Linked DNA regions of Homo sapiens: region 1 is linked to region 2. The links are contacts of gene promoters, found by promoter capture Hi-C in blood cells and fetal thymus (Javierre and others, 2016). All regions are on one chromosome and are shown on one strand. The core of a region is centred on a gene start or on the middle of the fragment in contact, and the rest is flanking DNA. Distances in the headings are between cores, read along the strand shown.

Region 1 (5,932 bases), core at 2,826-5,325, 1.2 Mb before region 2:
GAATGAGAAAGGGAATGGCGGGGAGACATGTTAGCAAGAGTAGTGGGTGAAGGCCTCTCTATGGAGGTTACATTCCTGCTAAGAAGCTGAAGCCTGGGGAGATGCAGGCATAATAAGAGCTTTCCAGGCAGAGGGGACAGCAAGGGCAAAGGCCCTGGGGTATGTCCAGGCTGGGCTGATGTGCATAAGACCAAAGATTAAAATGGAGAAGAGTTAGGGGAGATCAGCGGGGCCTCCGTGTGTGCTAGCACCGCCCCTGTGAAGTTCACAACAGTCTAACAAAAGGGGACCTGTGGATCCATATTGACTCAGAGAGGAAGGGACCTGAATCGCTCAGCAGGGGCAACTGCAGTAGCCAGGACTGCTCAGAATGAAGAATAGCCCCAGGTGCCCCAGCCACGTGCCCACATGGCTTTCCCTGGTGGAGCAATTAGATGGGCTCCCAGGACAGAGCCGGGGCAGGCAGGCCCGTTGCCACTGAGTGTGAGGAGGGGCTTTTGACCCAAACATCTGACCATGGAATGCCCTCCCTGTAAGGAGGTGAGCTTCCTATTCTGGGAGGAATTTGAGCATAGGCTGGGCAACCAGTCGAGAGGGTTTCATAGAGGAAATCCCTGCTTTGAACAGTGTTGGGCTGCAACGGTGTTTTCCAGCTGCTGGCCATGGGGACTTGCTGGGGGTGTGCTCACCCTGTGTGATGCTGGGCAGGCCACCTCACTGCTCTGCAGCTCAGCTTCCTCAGCCATAAAGTGGAGCTGGTGATGGTACCCACAGAGAGCGTGCTAGGTGACTTAATGCAGCCAACACCCTCGGAACGCTGTCGGGGGAGCTGCTGTGTTATTATAACAGCCATGGGCTTTCACCCACTTGCTTTTCATCTCTTTTTCTTTTGATTTGAAAATCTCAAAGCACGCATATGGTAAAAAACAAAAACAAAAACCAACCAACCATCCAAAAGGATCAGCAGTCAAAGGTGAGTCTCTCTCCAACCCCTGGCCCCACGTTCCCCCTGGAGGCCATCACTGCCAGCACTTGAGTGGGGGATTGTAATCCTTCCAGAGATATTCCACACGTAAGGAAATGCCTTTCCCACACAAACTGTAGCATTCTATATATATCCTTCTGTATTTGGCTTCTTTCCTCACTCCTTGTCAGAGCCATGTACATTGATTTAAAAAATTTTAAATTTCTGAATAGGAAATATATTCTCACGGGGCTTAAAAAGTTACAGTGATGTATATTGAGAATTCTTTCTCTCCTTCCTGTTCCTGACCACCCCATGCCCCAGACAGGTGACCACTTGTACTGATTTCTTATGGATCCTTTTAATGTTTCTTTACACAAACATATACAAATAGACATTCTTATTTCTCCACCCCATTCCTACACAAAAGCCTTATACTGTGTGCGTGGTTCTGCATGTTTGTTTTTCTGCTAACATCTACTAGCATGGCCCAGGGAATGCAGCCTCTCTTGGCTCGTCCCTAAGTGTTAGAGTGTGCAGATTCTTCATTCATTCATTCATTCATTCATTCATTCATTCATGTATTTATTGGACATCCATTATGTGCCAGGACTGTTCTGGGCCCTGGGATCTAGCGGTAGTGGTGAGTCTCACAGCAATGTGGAAGGACCTGTTTCCCAACAGCATGTGGAATTTTCCTATCAGCCCACGGAGCCTCCTCACTGTCTTCAACAACTGTGCGGTATTCCACTGTGTGCCCAAAGCAGAGTTTGTCTAACCAGCTCCTAGATGGGTTGTTTCCAATATTTTCATGATTACAAACGGCAGCAGTGCCTCCCGTGGTGGAACTGTGAGGACGCATCATTTCGTGGTGCCCAGGATGTTTGCAAGACCCATGCTCAGAGGTAGGGTTGCAGGGTCACATGGTAAATATGACAGCCCTTTCTATGGACAGCTTCCCCTCCAGAGGGTGTTCCCTTGACTCTCATGGCAATGTGGAAGGACCTGTTACACACACACACACACACACACACACACACACACGCTGTCGGCAGCACTAGAATTCTTTGCTGTTCTGATAGGTGAGAAATGGTAACTTGATGTCATTAATTTCCATTTCTGTTATCATGTGTGGAGTTGGACATTTGTCATACATTTAGGGGCCTTTTGAGTTTTCTGTAAACTGTCTATTCAAGTTTTCTGCCAATTTTCGGGGGGGTTGTCTTTTCTAGATTTCTAGAAGCTTTTAATGTATTAGGTTAGACCAGGGATTGGCAAACTGTTGCCTGTGGGATAAATTGGGCCCACTGCCTTTTAAATTTTTTTGTAAATAAAATTCTACTGGAACAGAGCTGCACTCACTGTCTGTGGTTGCCTTCTGCCACCACAGCAGAGCTGAACAGTTGCCACAGATACCCTCATGGTCTGCAAAGCTGAAAGTACTCACTACACAGCCCTTTACACAAACAGCCTGCTGACCCTGTGCTAGACTTTTGTAATGAGTTTCAAACATTTTCCCCAGTTTCTCATTTGTCTTTTGACTTTTCCTTTTTCTTTAAGTGCATTTTTAGCTTAAAGATAGTTTCTGGTCGGGCACGCTGTCTCACTCCTGTAATCCTAGCACTTTGGGAGGCCGAGGTGGGTGGATCACGAGGTCAGGAGCTCGAGACCATCTTGGTCAACATGGTGAAATCCCGTCTCTACTAAAATACAAAAAATTAGCCAGGTGTGGTTAGCTGGGCATGGTGGCATATGCCTGTAGTTCCAGCTACTTGGGAGGCTGAGGCAGGGGAATTGCTTGAACCTGGGAGGTGGAGGTTGCAGTGAGCTGAGATCGTGCCACTGCACTCCAGCCTGGGTACAGAGCAAGACTCCATCTCAAAAAAAAAAAAAAAGTTTCTTGGACATCTTTTGATAGGGCTAAAGCTTGACTTCTGGAGGGTCTTGCTTCTCAAAAACCACCCTTTTTATATGCCAGCCTCTGAGGTTCACTGTCGCTTGTGTGTCTGGTTTTTTTTTTTTTTTTTTTTTTTTTTTTAAACAGGGTCTTGCTCTGCTGCCCCGGCTGGAGCGCAGTGGTGTGATCACGGCTCACTGCAGCCTCGACCTCCTGTGCTCAAGCGATCCTCCCGATCCTCCCGCCTCAGCCTCCTCAGTAGCTGGAACTACAGGTGTGCGCCACCAAGTCAGGCTAATTTTTAAAAATTTTTTGTAGAGATGGGGTTTCCCTGTGTTACCCAGGCTGGTCTCGAACTTCTGGGCTCAAGTGATCCGCCCTTCTTGGCTTCCCAAAGTGGTGGAAATACAGGCATGAGCCACCGTGACCGGCCTGTTGCTTGAACTTCATTCCAGTGCTAAAAGGAAATGCATGAAAAGACAGACTTAAACCAAAACTATGTAGACATTGATGGAGAATTTGGCACTTGGATACTTGGATTCTTACTGCTGAGATTTCAATGGTTTGAGACGTGAAGATTGAAGCTGGGGATATGATGATGCCCGTGTTACAGATGAGGACACTGAGGCTCAGACAGTCGTGCAGCCTGCTGGCCTGCGGGGACGGGGACAGCGCTGCGGGACGGCGCCTGGCGCTGGGTCGGCCACTCCCAGCTGGTGACCTTGGCCACTCCCAGCTGGTGATCTTGGCTGTGAAGCGAGATCCAGAGAGGGGAGGGGCCCCAAGGACCCAGCCGAGTGCGGGCAGGGCGGAGCTGAGCGTGGGTCCCAAGGGAGTCCCCGACGTTCTGCGGCCCCCCCAACGCCCGGCCTCTGGAGGCCGTAGGGGCTCCCTGGCCTCTCGCCCCCAGTGCAGCCCGGGCACAGTGCAGTCGCTCCGCGCCATGCTTGACGTGGGCACCAGGGGGCGGTGCGGCACCAGGCATGGCGGCGCGCGGGGCCGGGCTCCGGAAGGGGAGGGGGGCGGAGGGGAGGGGAGGGGAGGGTAGGGAAAGGGACGGGAGGACAGCAAGGGGAGGGGAGAGGAAGGAGAAAGAGGGGAGGAGAGGGGAGGTGAGGGGAGAGTAAAAGAAAGGGGAAGGCAGCGAGAGGAGGGGAGAGGAGGGGTTGGAGTAGGAGGGGAGGGGAAGGAAGAGGAGGGGAGGGAAAGGAGGAGGAGGGGAAGAGGAGGGGGCGCCTCCGGACTGCCGCAGGCCCCTCTCAGTTGCGCCTTTCGGAGGGGCTGGGCAGCGCCTGCCCTGCTGCCCAGCCCCGGGCTGTGCGTCTGCTCTGAGCTGCGCCAACACCGCCTGGCTTACTCCCCTACCCCTCCCCCGGACCCAGTCCTTGCCCCAGCTCCGTCCCTCCTCCCTTGACCCCTCCTGAGTACCCCAGCTTATGTCCCCTCTCCAGCACCCAGTCCGTGTCTCACCTCCAGACCCCAGCTCGCACCCCCAGCCTCAGACCGCACCCATTGACCACAGCCTGTGCCCCTCCCTCCCCAGTCGCACCACCTTCCCAACCCCAATCCTTCCCTCCTGAGTTCCCCTCCGAGCTTCATTTTCTTGCCTGGAGCTGTTTGGAGCCAGACTCTCAGGGTTTGAGCTGAGCCTGCCGCTGGCCTTGGTGTGGAATGGAAAGCCCACCACCGAGCTGGCTTCAAACCCTCCAGGGCTCCTGTCACCTTAAAATAGAATCCCCATGAATGCCCTGCCGCCCAGCTGACACCGCGGCTCCCCTCTCCCCTCCTCTCCTCTTGCAGCGGGCACAACAGCCTTCCTGCTATCCACAAGGCCTCAGGGTTGTGCCTGCCTCCTGCCCCAGCACGTGTGGCTCCCTTGCCTGGAAAGCCCTTCCCTGGCAATGCCCCTCAACCTCTCCTGATGGCCCAAAATTCTCTCTCCCCCCGATGGACCAAGTAGTCCCAATTCCTCCCTGGATGTTTCTGTTCCACTCCCCTATTTATTCCTTCCTTTTTCCCCCTAGAACTTCAGGGCAGCACCCTCCCAGTCTCTGTCTCCACGGGACCTCCCTCCAGCACTGACAGGGCTGCCTGGCACATGGCAGGGACTCAGTGACATGGGAGTGGAGGGTGACCTCAGTCTGGGACTATACCACTCGGCCAAGTGGACTCTGGATGAGGAGGCCTAGAGCCTGGCCTTCTCTGGGACGCTGGCCTGTTGGTCGTGACCTTGGCCTAAGCCCTTGGGGAGGGGACACGGGTCAGCTCACAACTCCCTGCTCTTGCTCACATTTGCTGAGCACTTGCTCTGTGCTAAGGGCTTTTCTTGAATCATCTCCTGGAATCTCATAATAATCCCAATAATGCGTCTCCTTTTTTGGATGAAGAAGCCAAGCTTCAGAGAGATTAAGCTACCTGCCCAAGGTTACATAGCTAAAAGTGGAGGCTGAGTTTGAACCCAGAGAGACAAGCTGCTCCTCTCCTGAGACAATGGGTACGTGAGCCGAGAAGCCCCCATGAACTTCACAGTGATTCTGTCAGTGAACAGTTGGGGAAACTGAGGCCTGCTGCCCAAGTGTCACAGCTAAATGGAGGCAGAGCTGGGGCTCCGAGCCCCAAGGTGAAGGGAAGAATGTGCTTCTTCACAGCATGTCTCCAGAAGCCCCAGGAGTGACTAGCTGGCCGGCCCCGAACCCCACTGGCCTCAGTTTCCCCTTGGAGGATAGCCCCATCCATGGTCTCTGGCTCTTAGGGTCTCTGAATTCATTCACATCTTGAAAGTTGCAGTTGGGAGTCTCAGGTCTGGTGGCAGGAAACTGAGGAGACAGTCGTGGAATCGGGGTGGGGAGTGGTGCGGGAGGATTGTTTGTTCCCTCAGAGACTCTCTAGTGTATGTGTCCCTTGTCAGCTAAGCAAGACGGGCTCACCACAGCAGGTGGGCTCAAGCCCACCTCAAGCAGAGGTGGCCCAGGTGGCAAACTCAGGTGCTGGGGGAGCAGGGCAGGACACCAGAGGGGCATGGGATTCGGAGAGTGGGGGCTGTGACCTCTGGTTTGAAGGGGCATCTGCAG
Region 2 (6,164 bases), core at 3,439-5,938:
AGGCTAGAGCGCAGTGTGCAATCTTGGCTCACTGCAGCCTCCACCTCCTAGGCTCAAGCAATTTTCCCACCTCAGCCTCCCAAGTAGCTGGGACTAACTACAGGCACACACCACCATGCCTGGCTAATTTTTGTATATTTGTAGAGACAGGCGAAACTGCCCTGTTGTCTAGACTGGTCTGGAACTCCTGGACTCAAGCAATCCGCCCGCCTCGACCTCCCAAAGTCCTAGGATTATAGGCGTGAGTCACGGTCCCCAGCCCAGAACATTATTTAGAACAACAACAACAACAAACAGAACTGGTAGGTGGCACTGGCGCTGAGTAGAATTTTTACTTTTTGTTTCATGCCTTTCTGTAGTGCTTGAACTTTAAAAATGTGTGCAGGTGTTATTTTTAAAAGAATTACTTAAATGAATGGCCTGAACACCAGTCTGGGAGGCTTGAAATTGAACCAACAGGGGACAGAGAATCCCATGGCTTTCATCCTATTGACAAGGTGGCCACTGTTTCCCTGGCTTCTAGCTTTTGCCGGGCTTGGTACACCCTTCCATGAGAGAGCCTGGAGTGGCGGCCACTCCCATTCCCTAGAGCTAACCTGCCCTGCTCTGTGGTCTCTTCCTGCTCCTTGGTGCTGCTCCTTGCTGCTCCCAGTGCGTCTCCCCAGGGTGGCGTCCATAGCCCCCTTCACACTCGTCCTTATCACCTGCACCACCGTCATCCTGCTGGGCCCCCTACACTGCACTGGGATCTCAGGAGGCCCTGGCAGTGTGAGTGGCATCTCATCTCCGCAGCAATGCTCGGCACTGGCAGGACGGCTGTCCAGGAGCAGTGAATACATATCAGAAGGAATGGTAACAGCCTGTAATGAATCTCTGTACTTTCCAATGCCTTTTCCCATCTCTTACTTTGGTTATCTTCAAACAACCTTTTGAGGTAAGTAGGATAGGGGTCTGAGCACCCATTTTATAGATGAGGAAACTGAGGCTCTGAGAGACAAACTGATTTGCCCAAGGCCACTCAGCAGTGAGGGACTGTGTGAAAGAACCAGAGTCCAGGCTGCCACGCATGTACAGCCCCACTAGGCTGGGGTTCAGGCTGCCTGCCTGCCTGGAAATCTGTCAGGTGTCAGAGAGACCACAACTCATGGCAGAGACGGGGATGAGGGGAAGCTGAGGAGCCCTCTGACCCCAGCACCACACTGATGTGTCCATGGACCAGGGGAAGCTGGAGCTCTCATCCCACCTCAGCCCCTGCTGCTTCTGGATCCTCCGGGCAGGGGTATACCTGGGGCTTTGCCAATGCTCAGAGCCAGGGGCAGAGGCTCTCAGGGCAGAGGCTCTCAGGACTCAGCCCTTCTCTGTGTCTTCTTGGACCACCAGGTCCCCAGGTCCCTGGGCTGATGTTCCTCAAAGCTAGGTGTGCTCAGGGCTGGGGGGCTGGGGGTGGGGACAACACTGGTCATGAGAGAGGAGTGGGCCCTCATCTGAGTCGCCTGGTGTCAGAACAGACCTGACCTCTTGTCTACACAGCACCAGGGGTCTGCTTGGTGGGGAAACGGTCCAGCCCAGCCTGAGGAACCTCCTGCAGCATGTTTTTCCTGGCCCCTGGGCACCAGCAGCCCTTCTGCCTGCCTATTCCCTAGCCTCCAGCTCAAAACCACTTCCTGAGCCCAGAATGGGTAGGATCTCTTCAGCACCCCAGCCCTTAGAGGAAGAGGTGGTGAGAAGGTAAGGGACTCTGGCCAGAGACCCTTGAAGCATGGCTGGGGACAGGGGAGCTGAGAGTAGGGGGAATTGTTGCTTCCCACCTGGGAAGGGTGAGGAGAAGTCAGTCACTGTGGGAGGTCACAGGGCTTGATGGCCACAGTGGGCCCTTTGTGCACAGACCATTGAGCCACTGAATGGGGCCCTCAAAATGCTTCCTGGAAGAGGGCAGGCTGGGCTCAGACCCCCGGGCAGGCATGAGCTAGTGGGGAGGCTGGAAGTCTCAGGTATGTGTGTGGAACAGGGGATGAGGACAAGATTGGTGGCTACAGTACTGTGGAAGAGAGCACCAGACCTTGAAGAGCTTCTCCAAAGATCCCATATCCATTGGCAGCTTTACTGGGGCAAGAAGAAAATCTCATTTCCTCAACATGTTTCAGAAGTGTTCTAGGTTCTGGGGATACAGCAGTGAATAAAAAAATACAAGTCCATGCTCTTAAGGAGCTTGTCTCCTGATAGGAGAGACAGGCAAGAAACAAATCAATAAATAATATAAAGATCAGGATCATGAAGCAAAATAAACAGAGGCCAGGAAACTGAGGGCAGCAGATGTGCTGTTTTAGACGGGATGGGTGAGGAAGGTGTCTGGGATAAGGTGGCATCTGAGCAGAGACCTGAGTATGCGATGGAGCAATCCATGCAGCTGTTTAGGGGGAAACAAGAGACAATAGAAGAACGTTTCCCTGAACGAAGAAAGACTTGAGTTTCCAGATTAAAAGGATACACCAAGCATAGAGTAGTAACAATGAAAACAGAAGGAGGCTAGAGTCAGACATATCCTGGTAAAATGTGTGAAATTCAAGCATGGAGAAAGATCACTCCAAAAAGGCACCAGGCCCAAATGGTTTTATAGGCAAGGTCATACAATATTTAACCAATATAATTTATATCCTTCCAAGGCCCTTTTCTATACTTGATTATGTAGAAGTAGGGAAGGAATTGCTTTGGAAGAAAAGAAACTTAGAGATTTTCACTGCTATGAAGATAAATCTTTACTGTTTTTGGTCATCTGTTTTGAAGAGCACCACCTGACTTTGTTCTCTCCTTTCTGCCAAGGAATCTCAATGATAGATTCTCCCCACTATATTGAGGGAGCTTTTCTCCTTAGATATGGTTTGGGGTAAATGCTGTACCTAGCTGTAGGGCATTAAAGATTGTGGTGAAAACTTGGGCTTTACTTACTCTGAGTGAGTTGGGAGCTGCTGGAAGCTTCTGAACCCAGAAGGGACCTGATCTGACTCAGGTTTTAACAGGACCATCTTGGCTGTTCTCCAGTTTCTAGCCAGTGGGGCCTCCTCCCTGTGTGCTGAAGGTGCTAACGATGTGTCTTTGCTTCCAAGCTTTTTCTGACCTTTTGCTGCAGCTTTCACCAAGGAGATGGGAGGCACTAGACTGAGAGTATGTGAGGAGTGAAGACCGAGGGCGGGCAGGGCAGATGGAGAAGTGCTGTGGCTATGCCCAATCCAGACCTGCACTGAGACAAAATGAGGAATACAGGCCTCTATCTCTTCTCTTATGAAAATGGACAAATTCCACTGTTCTGCCCAGGCTAGCCAGGGCTGCTGTAATGCCAGAGTGGTCATTCCAACTTCTGTGAACTAGAAAGCCTCTCACCATCCTCAACACAAATGTCCTTAAAGCCCTCTGGCAACGCATTGGTTTGGCTCCTAGTGGCAGCAGCAGCTGAATCCCTGGCACTGACCTGGTGCACAGTGTCCCCAGATCCCTGGTCAAGCAAGCCTAGACCTATAGCATTCCAGAGAGCCTGGAAAGGGTATGGTTAAAAATTCCTGTTCTAGCAATGTCTTCAAGAAGAAGCAGGAGAAAATGCTCCCCACCTCCCAGTGCCAGGAGGGGAGAGGAAGGAAGCTCAGTAGGACAGCTCTGCACAGGTGGCCTGGGGGTGTCTGCAAGATGACCTGGCTCTACCTCTCTACCTGCTCCTTCCCAGCTGTGGGGCTGGGGAGGGCTGGTGCCCTCTCTGAGTCGGTTTCTTCATCTGTAAAGTGCTTGGCTGAGGATCCAGCTGGAGTGTGGATTAAAGGGCACAGCAGGGTGCCTAGCACCGTCAGCCCACGTGTTTTTCTTGGGCAAGCCACTCTGAGCCTTACTCTTCCTGTCTCTAAGCGGGAACCCAAATGCGAGCCAGGATTGCTGCGGACTAAAGCAGTCTACGAACGCTTTTGTAGACTGCGAAGCATTGTTTGGTCTTCAGAAAGGTGCCCCAGAGACAAGGTGTCATTGGTTTCAGGTGGGGGGGGGGGGGGCCGGTCAGCAAACCTCCTTAGTCCTGGAGGGCAGGGTGGCAGCGCAGAGCGCGCGCAATTTCCGGAGGGTAACTGATTGTCCTGCTGAAAGCCCAATACCGTATTTATCCAAAAATACGTCCTTCTAGGCAAGTGATTTATCTGACACTCAGCGGGGGACAGAGCTGCTTGTACCGCGCTGGGGATGAAGGTGGGGACGTGGGCCAGACCGGGCCAGACAGGCTCCCCAGCGCTTCCCGCTCAATCACGCAGACTGCACTTTGGGGCGATCTCAGAGCTTTTCTTAAGTCTTCAGGCCAGTCTCACGTTCTCACCTTGGGAACCGAGCTTTAGAAGCCGGCCCTCGTGGACGCCGCGAGACAGCGGCGAGAGGTGGGAAGCAAGGAGGTGGCTGCGGGCCAGGGACCAGGCAGCGTGTTGGGGGGCGTGCGCGTCTGGCAGCTCCGGGATCCCCGAGCATCCGCCGCTCAAGTCCGGGAGCCGCGCGGGCGGGCCGGGGCGGGGCCAGGGCGGGGCCAGGGCGGGGCGGGACGTGTGACGCGCAGCGCGGGCCAATGGGGCGCGCGCCCGGGGCCGAGCCTCCTGCGAGCCTTCGCGGCGCCCGCTGCGTCACGTGAGCGGCGGGGAGTGAGTGCCCAGCGAGCTGCGGGCGGGCTAGTGCTCCGCCGCAGCGACCCGCGGGCCGGCGGGCGATCGAGCCAGCGCAGGACCCGCGGCTCGGCCCCCGGCCGCCGCCGGACCGAGAGTCTAGCCGCCGCCCCCAGCCCAGCCCGCCCGGCCGCAGGACCGCCGGGGCCTGGCCGCCGGTCCGGCGTGCGCCAAGTTCAGGTGGGAGAGGCGCGGCGGGGCCGGCCGGCCGCGTGGACGCGGCCCCGGGTGATCAGAGGGCTGGCCGGCCTCGGGGCGCGTGGCCGTGCTCCCGCGCAGCTCTCGGAGGCACCGCGCGAGTGCTGGAGGAATGTCGGAGGAGCGGGATGGGCCCCCGCGGAGGTGGGCAGGGGTCGGACTGGCCCGGGGGAGGTGACCCCCCCCGCCCCGGTCGCCCACCAGCACTTTGCTGAGGCCCGCGCCGCCGCCTCGGTGCCTGGCCGGGCGATTCCGTGGCGCGCCTTGCGGGCCGGCCCTCCCATATGGTGGGCACCGGCGCGGCCTGGTGAGAGGAGGGGGAGAGCGGACGCGCTGGCCAGCCCGGGGTTGGGGGGCGGAGGGGCTGGAGACGGAGGGGTTACTGTCGGTCACCGCAGCAGTGTCGGGGGCAAGGGGGGGGCGTGGGACGAGGGCATGGTGCCCAGCGGGCAGCGGTCCAGGACTCTAGAAGGGGTCTGAGCCGGCTCTCTTCATTTCCCACGCACGTTTCCCCTCACCCGCCGGCACCCACGGCGGCTCCACGCGCGAGTCCTTCGCGGACAGCCTCCCGCACAGCCACAGCGGCTGCCGCGCACCACGCCCCGCACACGCAGTCACACGACAGGAACTCACACCCCTTCACGCACACCCGCACCGTTCACGCGTCTCACTCCACGCTGAGTCCCCGTCCGCTCAGACCGAACATTACCAAAGCCATGGCCTGACCGAGGGATGGCGGCGGCGGGGCAGAGAGGCCGTCCCCATCCCATATGGTGGTCCGGTTCACTCTTCCCTCCCCGCCTTGGTGTTACTCATGGAACCCCCCTCTCACGGAGGGCACAGAGGGGCTGTTTTCTCCCACGGCCCTCGGAGGTGACAAAATCAACAATTGTTTGAGAGCCTCAAATCTCCTTCCCCCTGTCCCCCCGGACCAGGTGGCCCCTGGGGAGACCCTGCCGCCCTACAGGTGTGAGGACGCCCGGACTCTGCGACTTTGGGGCCTGCGGGCGGCTCAGGGACCGGAGACTCTTATTTTGAAGGACAGCCCCCGCCGCCACCCCCGTGATTTGCACGCTGACCCAATGGCAAGCCCTTGGCCGGCGCTGGGCTTGTTATCAATTACATGTTGTTCCTGCAGCCGCTGTGTCCCCGGGAGGATAAACAGCAGGCCTGGCCGGGCCAGGGGAGGGGGCGGAGTCCGGCGGCCAGCCGGGGACTGTGCCCGGAACAGCGTGTCCCCTCCCCCTGCACGCAGCCTGCGCCTCTGGCCGCCCCACGTGCTGCTGT

What was found. The method cuts DNA at HindIII sites, captures the fragments that hold promoters and counts their contacts. A CHiCAGO score of 5 or more calls a contact.
Region 1: a fragment that was not itself captured here is called in contact with the fragment with the promoter of KLF15 in region 2 in 2 of 17 cell types (fetal thymus and naive CD8 T cells); the score reaches 5.4 in fetal thymus.

What each region holds. Positions count from the first base shown.
Region 1 is chr3:127,545,826-127,551,757 of GRCh38, reverse strand. All of the region lies in intron 6 of LINC02034 (long intergenic non-protein coding RNA 2034), which reads right to left. Among named protein-coding and RNA genes, the nearest start is that of LINC01471, 11 kb to the right of the region's middle. RefSeq lists a silencer at 3,515-3,834. The HindIII fragment of the contact is 2,366 bases long and covers 2,893-5,258 here.
Region 2 is chr3:126,355,932-126,362,095 of GRCh38, reverse strand. KLF15 (KLF transcription factor 15) reads left to right here and starts at 4,688. Exons shown (of 3, transcript NM_014079.4): 1 at 4,688-4,859. RefSeq lists a silencer at 4,509-4,728 and enhancers at 4,627-5,386, 5,387-6,146. The HindIII fragment of the contact is 4,432 bases long and covers 3,107-6,164 here.